Linked DNA regions of Homo sapiens: region 2 is linked to region 1. Evidence: promoter capture Hi-C in human tissues and cell types (Jung and others, 2019). All regions are on one chromosome and are shown on one strand. The core of a region is centred on a gene start or on the middle of the fragment in contact, and the rest is flanking DNA. Distances in the headings are between cores, read along the strand shown. Region 1 holds the start of GDF9 (growth differentiation factor 9). Region 2 overlaps KIF3A (kinesin family member 3A).

Region 1 (7,500 bases), core at 2,625-5,124:
CAGTCAACACAACAGGCAGTCAAGTCAAAGAATTAGTACTTCATAATATGCTTTCTCCCTTCTCTTTTCCCCACTTTCTCAAGCCTCAAAAAAAAAAATGGGGGTTAATATAGAAAAGGAAGGCAATTGGTATCATTACTAATTCCCAGCAACCTTACTGGACATTTTATCTCCAGAAAGTCAGATTTGGTGGTGAATCAAAGTAACAGGGAATCACTACATTCTGAAGTTTCATTTTTATTTTTTATTTTTTTGAGACAGGGTCTCACTGTTACCCAGGCTGGAGTGCAGTGGCACCATCATGGCTCACTGCAGCCTCAACCTCCCAGGTGCAACTGATCCTCCCACCTTAGCCTCCCAAGTAGCTGGGACTACAGGCATGAGCTACCATGCCCAGCTGATTTTTTGTTTTTGTAGAGACAAGGTCTCGCCATGTTGCCCAGACTGGTCTTGAACTTCTGGGCTCAGGCGATCCTCTCACCTCAACCTCCCAAAGTGCTGGGATCACAGGCATGAGCCACTGTGCTCAGCCTGAAGCTTCATTCTGAGTAATTTGCTCCAAACACAGAAGCAGCTGAGCTGATAAGGAAAGTAGTATTTTTCTCTTGGATAATCTCTAGAGGGAAAACCATAATAGAAACACTTATCAGACTTACTAAGATGACATTCTAAGCCCTAGTGAAGAAAGTCAATTTAAAACAATGTAATTGGTCCTAGTTAATTTAGAACACTTGAGATTAAAAACAGATGCTCTAAAACCACTATATTAAAATAGGATATTAAGGAAGCAGATACAACTGCCCTGTTGGGTTAGAATGGTTTTAAATCAAGAGCTGGTAGATATATACTTTTTTTTTTTTTTTTGAGACAGAGTCTCGCTCTGTTGCCGGGCTGGAGAGCAGTGGTGCGATCTTGGCTCACTGCAACCTCTGCCTCCTGGGTTCAAGCGATTCTCCTGCCTCAGCCTCCCGAGTAGCTGGGACTACAGGTATGCACCACCACACCCAGCTAATTTTTGTATTTTTAGTAGAGACGGGGTTTCACCATGTTATAATTTTTTAAAGCACCACACCCAACTGCTGAGTCAAACTGTGGACTGATACTTTGTTCTTGTAAGGGCCAACTGTTCAAAACGGGAACTTTAAGCTTTTCTCTCACAGAAAGTAACAAACAAGAGAAAAATATCCTATTTAACACATCACACCAATAGCTGTAAGAGATGTTTAAGGTCCATTTCTGGGCCAAAAGCTTGGTGGAACAGAAAGAGGTGCTAACATTCTCTAGCAGCACTTCCGCTCAGCCTTGAAAGCCATTAAGTCTCTGGTGTTGCTTTAAAATTCCATCATATTAGCCCACCTTAACCAATGAGAGCGTTAGGAATAAACAATAAGCTCAAGTCCCAGATTTGTTTCAACTGGATATTGAGTTTTATGCAAAATAAAATACAATTCAAGGAACTAGGCTCAGCTCCTTTCTGTAATTGAAATGCAGAAGTGTCTATCATCTTCCCTCCACCCAGTTAACCAATCTGCTTTCACATACCTGTTACCTGGTCTCCAGGAGCCTGCTTGTGCCGGGTACAGGGGGTGAAGAGCCGAACAGTGTTGTAGAGGTGACTTCTATTGGATTTAGGAATCCCTTCCTTGGTAGCATATGTCTTATAGAGCTTCTTCATGTAGTGCAAAGCTCTGGAGTCTGGCTGCAGCCTAGGTGACCCACCTCGCCCAACAGATAGAACTTTGAAAAGCGCGGGAAGGAGGCCAGCTCTGTCTCTCTCATCTATATGCTGCAGCAAGGACCAAGGCATAGCCCCAGATTCCAACTCAGCACTAGCAGCAATCTGAGCTTCTCCCCCAGAAGCCTGAGAACCAAGGCTAATAGGAAAACACAGCCAGGCAAAGCAGCAAAACCAAAGGAGGAATTTGTTGGGACGTGCCATGGCTTGGGAGAACTAGTGAGGAACATATTTCTCCATGCCAGTCCTCTTCCTAAAGGCCAGGAAGAGCCTAGCTTGGTCTCTTAAATAAATTTCAGGTGTGTGGGTGGACTACGGTCACTTCTGTAATCAGGCCTCAAGTATGCCTAGCTGAAGATTTTATCAGCTCTATATCAAGCAGCTGATAACACCTTATTTAGCCAATTTGTTAATTAGATACAGATTTACTTGGTTATTTAGCTTTCCTCTCTTTTCCCCTGGCATTTACGTAAAACCCGTTACTGTTACACTACCGGACTAACTATGTAGCTGAAAGTCTAAGATAAATTGAGGAATGATCTTAAATAAAATCTCTCATTTTTTGAGAAATTTGGATTAAGATGTTCGCTAGGTGCTTGCTGAAACTTCTAAGGCATGTGGAAAAGCTAACCAATTATTCATGACGATACTCAGATCTGCTGGTATGCAACTTATGGTATTAGGTTTACTCTTCCTCTCAATTTATCCTCACGGCCTTTTCCACTTCCAGGTGTTTACAATTGTAATTATTCGCTGCATGTTAATTTGCGAATTTACAAATTTGGGTGAGAAAGTCACAATTGGCATAGAAGTTCCAGAAAGCAGAAAACCATTAGGTCTCTCAGTCCTCCCAGGTGGCTGGGTACAGAATACGTACTTGGAGTACTGGAATTGTATTTGCGATGTTCTTAAAAGAGGACACCGCCTTTAACCTTGACTTATTTTTAAATGTAACATACTGATGTCCTTACTTTGGTCTGCACACTCATCTATACATATTTTGGTTGAAAGGTTTTGGGATGTTTGCAGATGCTATAAAATAAATGAACGTTTTATTATTATTCATCCAAATGGTGGTAGAATTTGCCACAATATTTCTGTCCTTACCTGTATTTCTGTTCTTGCCTTGGAGCTGAGACCAGGCTAGACATTATGGTTTAAAAAAATGAGGCAAAGGAGCACCATGAAAAGCTGAAATGAGGGGATATTCAGCGCCACCCCGAAGGAGACTATGCTGGAAGAGTCAGCCTACACTCATAGTGCAAGATACGAAGCCAGTTTGTGCAGTACCTACATGAGAAAACTAAGGTATGTCTGCAAAATACAAGTTGACTGCCTGCCGAGCCTCCGTGGTCCGTAAGTAGTGTTATAAAACACAGCCAACTGTTGAATGAGAGCTTAGTCCTAGATAAAATATGGCCAGCAATTCCATTAACAAAACACTGACAAGACACCTCAGGGCGAGCTGTACATTGACAACAGCATCGTCAAGCAGAATGCACTTCAGGGAAAACATAATAAGGCCTCTCACCCGACTTTCCTTGCTTCTCACGTGGGGAGAAGAAAGAACTGGGGCATCGTGATTCCCCCCACCCCACGCAAACCATCTGGGGAGGACGCTGGCTGCTGTCGAGGCGGCCTCAGCATTCATCAATTGACGATTATTTGATTATTTTTGTGGCTGAAACTGACGAAACGTTTGTATTATCTCTTGGGAACGTTAACAGCCTGCCAGGGGACTCTAAAACAGAGTCCAAGAGAAGCCTTCGATGTGTGTCCCTGATTTTGGTGCTGGGGTCGCTCATGGCCTGAAAATAACGAAGCCCCCTTTGAGCTACTGGCCAAGGCCAAATGAAACCTCGTGCTCCTCTGCTGTGGGGCGGCCCGGCCTCGGGGCTCAGAGGCGCTCTGTCTACAGCTGGGAAGACTCGCAGGCCCCAAGCTCCTGGCCAGCGCTGCCCCGGAGGTCGGCAGGCCCCTTCCTCGTCACCTTTTTGTTCCCTCCCCCGCCTCCCGCATTCGGCCGCTTCCTGACTGGGATTCCACAGAAAAGCCGAGGGCTGAGGAGAAGTGTGAGCGCCTCCGCCTGTCCACTGTCCCCCAAAGTCAGTTCAATCCCCGACGTCCTCCGCTAGGCTCCACCCCACCGGCCCGGGCAGGGCCTCCAAGGCACCTCCCACCTACGGGTCACCCAGTCAGCCCACTTCTTTCTGGGACAAAGGCGTCATCCCTTAGAGACAGTAGGAAAATGGTATCTCCCGGAAGTTACCTCACGACCTCCAAGAGCGGCTTCCAACCTTGCCGGAAATGACGAACGAGTCAACCGGATCGGTGACTGTGGAGGGCGAGCTGAGCCCTGTGCGTGAGTGGGGTCTGGTTGTGCAGTGTTCGTGGACCCTGGGAGGCTAGGGGCGCCCCGCTGGGCTGGGAAAGGATAAGGAGTGCAGGGGCAGGAGTCTGGGGTTGGGGATGGACCCCCGCGGGGACTGCGGCGCTTCGCGAAAGCGAGCCAAGCGCCTGTCCACCCTCGGTCCTGCAGGGCCGCCGCCACAATGGGCCGCGAGTTTGGGAATCTGACGCGGATGCGGCATGTGATCAGCTACAGCTTGTCACCGTTCGAGCAGCGCGCCTATCCGCACGTCTTCACTAAAGGAATCCCCAATGTTCTGCGCCGCATTCGGGAGTCTTTCTTTCGCGTGGTGCCGCGTGAGTGCCTTGGGCCCGCGGGAGCGGGAGGCTGGACCCCAGCAGCAGCAGCAGTCACTGCGCCTCCCCTCTGAGCGCTGGCGGCCGGGCAGGCGCTCTGTAACTTGCCGTACACACCTTTCTCATTGAATATTCCTGACCGCCCTTAAGCTGGTCATATTATCCTCCCCATCTTACACGGGGAAAACTGAGCTACAGAACTGAAATGACTGGCCCAAGGTCACTCGGGTGATTCCAGCATGTTCCTCTGAGGTCACCTTTATTTAGTTCTTACCAGTGGTGAAATGCTTTGTGTTAAACGTGCAGCAGATAGTGATGATAGTTGCATGGCCTTGGATATGCTAAGAACTACTGAAGTGTATGCTTTAAAGAAGACAAGAGGACTGAGACCTTTTTTTTTCTTCTATATGTCTTATATGTGTGCTCTCTGTTTACTCTCTTAATTTTTAAAGAGTTTGTAGTGTTTTATCTTATCTACACATGGGGGACTGAAGAGTTCGAGAGATCCAAGAGGAAGAATCCAGCTGCCTATGAAAATGACAAATGAGCAACGCATCCGGATGACGGTTCCCTGTCTCTGAAAGACCTTTCTCTGGAAGAGGAGTCTGCATTGTAGTGTCTCAAAGACACAATAAACTTCCTATGGTCTGCACTGTTGTGATATTACATTTTTGTGAGTAGAATCCTGTGTGACCACTAATATTCAAGTTCATGAAGCGCCCCTCCTCAGCATGAGTCTTGAAGTTTTGCCTGGTCTCGGGTTTTGGTGAAAGAGCAGGGCTCCCCCTTTGTTCCATTATCTACAAGAAAGTAGCTGCAGGTACTCCTGCATCTAACCATTTGTGGGTGACATGGGCTATGGCGAGTGCTGGTTCTTGGCCCTCTGCTCCCATAGCAACAATAAAGTCTACTAACTATATTGTAATTAGTATGTGTCAGGGACGCTTTTATTTTTTATTTTTTGAGATGGAGTCTTGCTCTCTCACCCAGGCTGGAGTGCAGTGGTGTGATCTCGGCTCACTGCCATCTGTGCCTCCTGGGTTCAAACGATTCTCCTGTCTCAGCCTCCGAGTAGCTGGGATTACAGGTGCAGGACACCACACCTGGCTAATTTTTTGTATTTTTAGTAGAGACAGGTTTCACCATGTTGGCCAGGCTGGTCTGGAACTCCTGACCTCAGATGATCTGTGCGCCTCAGCCTCCCAAAGTGCTGGGATTACAGGCGTAAGCCATGGTGCTCTGGGCCTCAAATACTCTTCTTAGCTACACAAATGAACTGTTAAACCTCACAAGCACCTTTAACGTATCCTCATTTGGCAGATGAGGAAATGGGCACAGAGAGATTAAGTAATTTGCCAGAAATTATACAGCAGTGAATGGTGGAGTCTTGCACTAAAGTGATGCTCTTAAAACTATGCTCTATTGCAGGGGTGTCCAATCTTTTAGCTTCCCTGGGCCACACATAAAATACGCTAACATTACAATAGCTGATAAGCTTTAAAAAATGGCAAAAAAAACCCTCAGCGTTTTAGAAAGTTTACAAATTTTTGTTGGGTCGGATTCAAAGCCATCCTGGGCTGCTTGCTGCCCAGGACTGCGGTTGGACAAGCTTGCTCTACTGCCTTTCCTCCTAAGGCAGGCCTTAGCCTGAGGGGATATCAGCTATAAAACGGATGAGGTGATCTCTTAGCCTCCACAGCAGTTTTCTGTTTCTGTGCCAGGAGGCCAACAATGTTTTCAACCATATGTGGTTCATAAAGCCTCAAAGATTTACTCTGGCCCTTTATGAATAAAGTTTACCCCTGATCTAAAGCCTTTAAATTATCTTTTTGGTATTAAAGATACCATTTTCCCTTCGCCCACCGAGAGATGGTGGGGGTAGGTGTGGTTGGCAGTTTTATGCCTCTAGTTCCTTAGAGAGGCTTCTCTCTAAGCTTCGGGACATGGATCTCACCTGTGGTAGCAGGTATGTGGAATATGATGAGTTGTCATAGCTCAGTCAGTACAGTATATGCTATGGGATCTGAGATCCGTTTTTAGAAACTCTTCTAAGGACTCTTCCTGCTAGCAGCAACTTTGATTCTGGGTCAGACTGTGTTTTTTTTTTTTTTTTTTTGAGATGGGAGTCTTGCTCTGTCACCAGGCTGGAGTTTAGTGGCGCAATCTCAGCTTACTGCAACCTCCGCTTCCCGGGCTCAAGTGATTCTCCTGCCTCAGCCTCCCAAATAGCTGGGACTACAGGCGCATACCAACACACCCAGCTAATTTTTGTATTTTTATTTTTTTTTTTAGTAGAGACGGAGTTTCACCATGTTGGCCAGGATGGTCTTGATCTCTTGACCTCGTGATCCACCTGCCTCGACCTCCCAAAGTGCTGGGATTACAGGTGTGAGCCACCGTGCCTGGCCAGACTGTATCTTTATTATCCTAATTACTGCTATTGCCTTTTAAGAATCAAAAGTTAAGATACTTCAAAACATGGCCGGATACAGTGGCTCACACCTGTAATCCCAGCACTTTGGGAGGCTGAAGTGGATGGATCACTTGAGGTCAGGAGTTTGAGACCAGCCTGGCCAACATGGTGAAACCCTGTCTCTACTAAAAATATAAAAATTAGCTGAGTGTGGTGGCACACGCCTATAATCCCAGCTACTCAGGAGGCTGAGGCAGAAACGCTTGAACCTGGGAGGTGGAGGTTGCAGTGAGCCAAGATTGTGCCACTGCACTCCAGCCTGGGTGACAGAGCGAGACTTCAAAACAAAACCTAAAAGATAAACTACATTGTGAGGCAGGATACGGGGAAAAGGCTGAGTCTTACAGTCTTGGGCTCGTCCTCTTAGCCCGTCACTTCCTCATTATGTGATATAGGCAAGAAACCTACTTTCATGAGCCTTAAGCTTCTCACCCATAAAATAGAAATATTATAAAGTTCTTGGGTTGTGGTGATGGTGAAATGAGTGACAAGTGTCTGGCAAGATGGTACGGGCTTAACACAGGGCAACTAACTGAGGAACTCTTCTACCTCACCCCCAAAAGACAGTCCAATTTTCCCATTTGCC
Region 2 (7,500 bases), core at 2,754-5,253, 130 kb before region 1:
AACTAAATTTAAAAAAAAATTAGCCAGACATGGTGGGATGCTCCTGTAGTCTCAGCTACTGGGAAGGCTGAAGCGAGAGAATCACTTGAGTCCAGGAGGCTGAGGCTGCAATGAGCCGTTATAGTGCCACTGCACCCCAGCCTGGGTGACAGGGTGAGACCTTGTCTTGAAAAAAACAAAACAAACAGAAAACAACAACAACAACAAAACTATATTCTGGGTCATAAAACAAGTCTTAATAAATTTAAAAACATTCAAGCCATAAAAAATATGTTCTCTAAATTGAGATTAAATTAGAAACCAATAACCAAAAATCTCTAGAGAATTTAAAAATATTTGGAAACTAAATAACACATTTCTAAATAACCCAGGATCAAAGAATAAATCAGGAGGTAAAATAGTATTTTGAACTACATGAAAATGAAAACATAGTATGTCAAAATCTGTGGGATGACACTAAAACAGTACTCAGTGGCAATTTATAGCATTAAACTCCCATATTAGAAAGGAAAAAAGGTCTCAAACCATGGCCTCAGCTTCCACTTTAAGTAGAAAGAAAAGAGGAAATTAAGCCCAAAGTAAGTAAGAAAAAAAAATAAAGATCAGAGCAGAAATAGATGAAATAGGAAACATAAAAACAGAAAGAAAAATTAATAAAACCAAAAGCTGGTTCTCTGAGAAGATCGATAAGATAAACCTCTAGTCAGACTAATCAGGAAAAAAAGAAAAGACGTAAGTTACCAATATCAAAAATGAGAAAAGTTATACCACTACATTCAACATACTAAAAGAATAATAAGGGAATAGTATAAACAACCTTTTGCCAATGAATTTGACAACTTAGATGAAACGGACTAATTCCGTGAAAGACAAGCTACCAAACCTCACTTAAGAAAAAACTGGCTGGGCACGGTGGCTCACGCCTGTAATCCCAGCACTCCGGGAGGCCAAGGCAGGCGGATCACCTGAGGTCAGTAGTTTGAGACCAGCCTGGCCAATACGGTGAAACCCGTCCCTACTAAAACTACAAAAATGAGCCAGGCATGGTGGCGTGTGCCTGTAATCCCAGCTACCCAGGTGGCTGAGGCGAGAGAATCGCTGGAACCCGGGGAAGCAGAGGAGACAGTGAGCCGAGATCGCGCCACTGCACTCCAGCCTGGGCAACAGAGCAAGACTCTGTCTCAAAAAAAGAAAAAAAAAAAAAGAAAAAATAGATAACCTGGCCGGGCACGGTAGCTCATGTCTGTAATCCCAGTGCTTTGCAAGGCTGAGGTGGGAGGACTGGTTGAGTCCAGGAGTTCAAGACCAGCTTAGAAAACATAGTGAGACCCTTATCTCTACCAAAAAAAAATTAAAATTAGCTGGGCATGGTGCGGTGGCACACACATATAGTCCCACCTACTCAGGGGGCTGAAGTGGGAGGATCGCTTGAGCCCGGGAGGTAGACGCTAAGTGAGCCATGATCACACCACTGCACTCCAGCCTGGTCGACAGAGTGAGACCCTGTTTCAAGAAAAAAATAATAATAATAGAAAAAATTAGCCAGGCGTGGTAGCACACACCTGTAGCCTCAGCTACTGGGGAGGCTGAGGTGGGAGGATTGCTTAAGGCCAGGAAGTCGAGGCTGCAGTGAGCTGTGATTGTGCCACTGTACTCCAGCCTGGGTAACAGAGTGAGACCCTGATTTAAAGAGAAAAAGAAAAAATACATAATCTGAATAGTCTTATGTCTATTAAAGAAATTGAATCAATAGTTGAAAACCTTCCCACAAAGAAAACTTCAAGCCCAGATGGCTTCACTGATGAATTCTACCAAACATTTAAGAAATAATACCAATTCTAGACAAATTCTTCTAGAAAACTGAAAAGAAGGGGATACTTTCTAACCCATTCTATGAAACTAGCATTATCACAATACCCAAACCAGAAAAATGCATTAGAAGAAAACTATATACTTACATCCCTCATGAACATGGATGCCAAAATTTTTTTAATTTAGCAAATAAATCTAACAATATATGAACAGAATAATGCATCATGACCAAGTGGCAAAGCTAGTTTCACATTCAAAAATCAATCAATGTAATTGACCATATTAACAAACCTTAAAAAAAAAGATTATTTCAATAGGTGCAGAAAAAAAATTACATTTGACAAAATCCAATATACAATCCAAAAACTCTCAGCGAACTAAGAATAGAAGGGAACTTCCTCAAACCTACAAAGGATATCTGTTAAAATTTACAGACATCATCATACTGGTGAAAGAATGAATGCATTTTCCCTAAGATCAGGAACAAGACCAAAATGTCCACTCTCACCACTTCTAATTTACTGGAGGTTCTAGCCTCCAGGTGCTATCAGGTAACAAAAATAAATTAAAGGAGATTGGAAAGGACAAAGTAAAAACTGTCTTTACTTGCAAACAACATTTTTTTTTTTTTTTGAGACAGAGTCTTGCCCTGTCACCCAGGCTGGAGTGCAATGGCACGATCTTGGTTCACTGCAACCTCCGCCTCCGAGGTTCAGGCGATTCTCCTGCCCCAGCCTCCCGAGTAGCTGGGATTACAGGCACGTGCCACCATGCCTGGCTAATTTTTTTATTTTTAGTAGAGACAGGGTTTCACCATGTTGGTCAGGCTAGTCTCGAACTCCCGACCTCGTGATCTGCCTGCCTCGGCCTCCAATGTGCTGGGATTACAGGCGTGAGCCACTGTGCCTGGCCAACATATTCTTACAAGTAGAAAATCCTACAAAATTTACAAAAAACCCAAAACATAAAAAAACTACTAGAATTAATAAGTTTAGCAAAGTTTCAGGATACAAGGTCAATATACAAAAATCAACTGTGGGTACTAAGAGGGCAGTCATCAAAAAGACAGTAACAAGTGCTGGCAAAGATGTGAAGAAATCAGAAACCTCACACATTGCTGATGGGAATATAAAATGGTGTAGCTACTGTAGAAAAGTTTGGCAGCTCCTCAAAACATTAAACAAAGTTACCATGTGACCTAGTAATTCCACTCTTAGGTATATACCCAAGAGAAACTAAACATATGTTCACACAAAAATCTGTAAAAGAATGTTCAAAGTAACATTATCTGTAATAGCTAAAAAGTAGAAACAACAAATGTTCACCAACTAATAAATGGATAAACAAAATATGATATATCTATACAATATTATTCAGACATAAAAAATAATGAATTGCTGGCCTAGTGCAATGGCTCACGCCTGTAATCTCAGCACTTTGGGAGGCCGAGGCGGGTGGATCACAAGATCAGGAGTTCAAAACCAGCCTGGCCAATATGGTGAAACCCCGTCTCTACTAAAAATACAAAAATCAGCCAGGTGCAGTGGCTCACGCCTGTAATCCCAGCACTTTCAGAGGCTGAGACAGGCGGATCACAAGGTCAGGAGATCAAGACCATCCTGGCTAACACGGTGAAACCCCGTCTCTACTAAAAACACAAAAAATTAGCTGGGTGTGTTGGCGGGCGCCTGTAGTCCCAGCTACTCAGGAGGCTGAGGCAGGAGAATCGCTTGAACCCAGGAGGCAGAAGTTGCAGTGAGCCAAGATCACGCCACTGCAATCCAGCCTGGGCGACAGAGCAAGACTCCGTCTCCAAAAAAAAAAAAAAAGTAATGAATTGCTGATATATGTTTATATGTTACAATAGGGATGAAGCTTGAAAACACTGTAAGTGAAAGAAGTTATTCACAAAAGGCCACATAGCATATAATTCCATTTATAGAAAATGTCCAGAATAGGCAAACTCATAGAATAGATATAGACAGTAAATTAGTAGTTGCTGGGTTGGGGGAAGGGAGGTGGTAATGGATTGGGAGTGACTGACTGCTAATGGATACAGGGTTTCTTTTTGGAGTGATAGAAATGTTCTGGAAACAGACAGCGGTGACAGCTGTACGACATTGTAAATGTACCTATGAACTATAAAGTGTAAAATGGTTAAAATCATAAATTTGATATTTGAATTTTATCACAAAAGCTACCTAAAGAAATCAATTTCATCTCTATATATTAGTAACACACAATCCAAAATTGAAATTATGAAAGCAATCCTATTCACAATAGCATCAAAAAAATACTTAGGAATAAATTAATCAAAACAAGTGCAATACTTGTACACTAAAAGCTACAAAATACAGATGAGAGAAATTAAGATATAAATAAATGGAGAGAAGCTGGACATGGTAGCTGACATGGGAAATCCCAGGGCTTTGAAAGGCCTCAGTAGGAGATTGCTTGAGCCTAGGAGTTCAAGACCTGACTGAGCAACACAGCAAGACCCAGTCTTTACAAAAACAAAAAAATGAGCCAGGTGTGGTGGCGCACAGCTGTAGTTCTCATTACTCAGGAGGCAGAAGTGAGAGGATAGCTTCAGCCCAGGTTCAAGGCTGCAGTAAGCTATGACTGCACCACTGCACTCCAGCCTGGGCAACAGAGCAAGACCCTGTCCATAATTCATTAATGTTTCAACGTTTTAAATGAAGAGAAGTATCATGTTCATGGACTGAAGACTCAATATTGTCAGAATGACAATTCAACACAATCCCTATGAAAATCCTAGCAGGATAAACTTCAAAAACATTATTTGATGTGAAAGAAAACAGATAAAAAAGGTGACATATTATATGACATCATTTATATGACATTTCAAGAAAAGGCAAAATTATAGTGACAGAAAGCAGATCAATAGTTGCTTGGGGGTGGGTCTGCAAATGGGCATAAAGGAAATTTTGAGGATGACAAGGGTGTTCTAAAGCTGGATTGTGATGATGGTTTCACAACTGTATATATTTACTACACTCATCAAACTGCACAGCTGCAATATGTGAATTTATGGCACAGTAATTATGTCTCAATAAGGGAGTTTTTTAAAAAGTAAAGATTCACTTACCATTGTAGCCTTCAAGTACAGAATCAATAATAGGTCTTGCAGTTAAGTTATAAACATCAAGTTGTTTACTCTCTGGTCCAAAAACAGTATCAAAAGTAAATGTCTTTGGAGGTTCATTGGAAGAATCAGTCTTATGTACAGTGATAGTTCCCCTCATCTCATCCACACTGACAGCCTGTTTGTAGCACATTGATTTCTCTCTCTCATTGAGGGGCCGGCACCTAACAACAACCTTCACATTATCGCAGCTTTCTGGCTTCTCTGATTTATTGATCTGTTGGAGATAATATTTACAAATAATGAAAAGAACATTAATTTTTACCCTCATCAGATTAAATTTATAAACTTTAAAAGGCTACTTTTCCAACTCAGTGCCTTGCACACATTAAACACTTCACAGGTATTTGTTAAATGCAATTAAAGATCTTACATATAGCTGAAAAGTTTATTAAAAGATACAAAAAGGAAAATCGTTTCTTTTAAAATGTAAAAGGGAGAGAAGAGCTAGTTCACATTTGTGGCAAAGGCTGTACAAGCAGAAACTGAACCAGTATATTATAGATCATCTTTTTGCACAAAAGTCTCTGACCCAGCGTTTCCTGCCTGTAGGAAAACACATGTGAACATGGTTAACAACTTTAACTCAAGAAAATAGTAGGTCCTTTGTTTCCCCTGAGACTTTAGTTTTATTTCCTATCACGCATCTGTAAAATGGTTTTTATCATGTAATATATCCATATATGGCTTATCTTCTCTACAGAAAACAATAATAAGATAAAGACAGAAATGAAAGTCTAATGGCAAAGAAAAATGCCTTAGTATTACCTAACCTTATAAGCATTTGTATATGTAAAGTTTCCATTTCTGAATTTTTTTTTTCTTATTTATGAGGCACAGTCTCACCCTGTCACCCAGGCTGGAGTGCAGTGGCGTGATCTCAGCTCACTGCAACCTCTGCCTCCCAGGCTCAAGCGATTCTGCTGCCTCAGCCTCCCCAGCAGCTAGGATTACAGGCGTCCATCACCATGCCCAGCTAATTTTTGTATTTTTAGTAGAGACGGAATTTCATCATGTTGGCCAGGCTGGTCTCGAACTCCTGACCGCAAGTGATCCACCCACCTCGGCCTCCCAAAGTGCTGAGATTACAGGCATGTGCCACCGCACCCCGTCATTTCTGAAATTTTATGATTAAGAAAATATAATGAAACACAATCCTATTATTGAAGTGAAAAGGACAGTTTAGTTGAACAGATACTTGTTAAATTCCTACTGTTTCAGATTCTCTTCTAAGCATTGAAGAGAAACAAATATGAGTCATTGTCATTGACTCTGACATTGTCACTGACAAGTAACAGATTATATCAGTACAATACACTTCTATCTATCTCTCATCCTATTCCTCTCATCTATTCATCACCCTAGTCTAAATCACCATCATCTTGGCCCTGGATTACTGCCTCCTAACTATACTCCTGAATCTAATCAGATTGCCCTACTGCCTATTCTCCAAATAGCAGTCAGTGTCAACACACATCTAATCATGTCACTCTCCTACTTAAAAATTCTTCAGTGGTTTCCCATAGATCTCAGAACAAAAACCAGAATCCTTAAGGTGGTCTGTAAGGTCTGGCTTCCACCCACGTCTGCTTCACTGGGCTTATTTCACAAGATATTCTGCCTGGCTCATCCATGCCACAGCCACACTGAGCTGCTTGGCCTTTTCTTGTCACCATGCTCCTCACCACTGGCCTTTCCATGTGCTGTTCCTTCTACCTAGAACCATCTTCAATCCCCTCTTCACTTAGTTAACATCTACTTATCCTTCAGAACTCAACAGCCACTTCACCTGGGAAGACTTCCTGACTAGGTCAAATACTCTTATAGGCTCAGAGAGCACCCTGCTCTCCCCTTCCTGGACACAAATTTTACTTTTGCTTGTTCCTTATTTGATTAATGTCTTTCTGTCTACACCAGAGGTTGCAAACAGGTAGTCAAGAGGCTGAATTCAGCCCACAAATTTCTTTTGTTTGGTTCATAGTATTTAAAGAGCTTTTGAATTAGTTGCTAAAATTGAGAAATTTCACAAAAATAATTTCTAAAGTCTCTTCTTGGGAGGAAAAAAAATGACCTGTTATCATCTGCAGACCATCATTCTTACATGGCAATACATTCCAATTCACCAGAATCTACTTCTCTCTATTGTAGGATACCCACCCACTTCATTATTAAGGTTTTGTGTCTTACGTCTGTAAATATGTATGATTTTCACCTCTGCCCAAGAAGGCAAGCCTCTCTCTTTCCAAGTTCAAGAACCTGACTGGTGTTGCTCAATGTTGTATCTTCAGGGCCTAGCATGTGGTTGGTGCCCAATATTTACTGAATTAAAACTTGAAAGCAGTGAACAGAACAAATATAGAGCATTTAATCTTAAATGTCAAGCACTGTCCTTCTAGTCTCCTGTGTATTATTTCACGCGGATAACAACCCCATGAGGTAAAGTTTACATGGGAACTAAGGACCCAGACAGATTAAATAATTATCCGAGGCCTCACAACCACTAAATAAGCGGCCATGGCTCA

What was found. Contacts are between HindIII fragments. The study calls those that stand out against the background at their distance.
Region 2: a contact is called between a fragment that was not itself captured here and the fragment with the promoter of GDF9 in region 1, in 1 of the 25 tissues and cell types used here (hippocampus).

The regions. Positions count from the first base shown.
Region 1 is chr5:132,862,595-132,870,094 of GRCh38, forward strand. It overlaps GDF9 (growth differentiation factor 9), which reads right to left and starts at 3,875. Exons shown (of 2, transcript NM_005260.7): 1 at 1,543-3,875. The coding sequence starts at 1,939. It overlaps UQCRQ (ubiquinol-cytochrome c reductase complex III subunit VII), which reads left to right and starts at 4,048. Exons shown (of 3, transcript NM_014402.5): 1 at 4,048-4,093; 2 at 4,275-4,441; 3 at 4,894-6,253. The coding sequence starts at 4,288. The coding sequence ends at 4,988. RefSeq lists enhancers at 3,327-4,526, 3,385-3,885, 3,886-4,386. The HindIII fragment of the contact is 5,371 bases long and covers 842-6,212 here.
Region 2 is chr5:132,729,284-132,736,783 of GRCh38, forward strand. KIF3A (kinesin family member 3A) reads right to left here. Exons shown (of 19, transcript NM_001300791.2): 2 at 4,922-5,195. Among named protein-coding and RNA genes, the nearest start is that of KIF3A, 4.5 kb to the right of the region's middle. The HindIII fragment of the contact is 5,462 bases long and covers 1,273-6,734 here.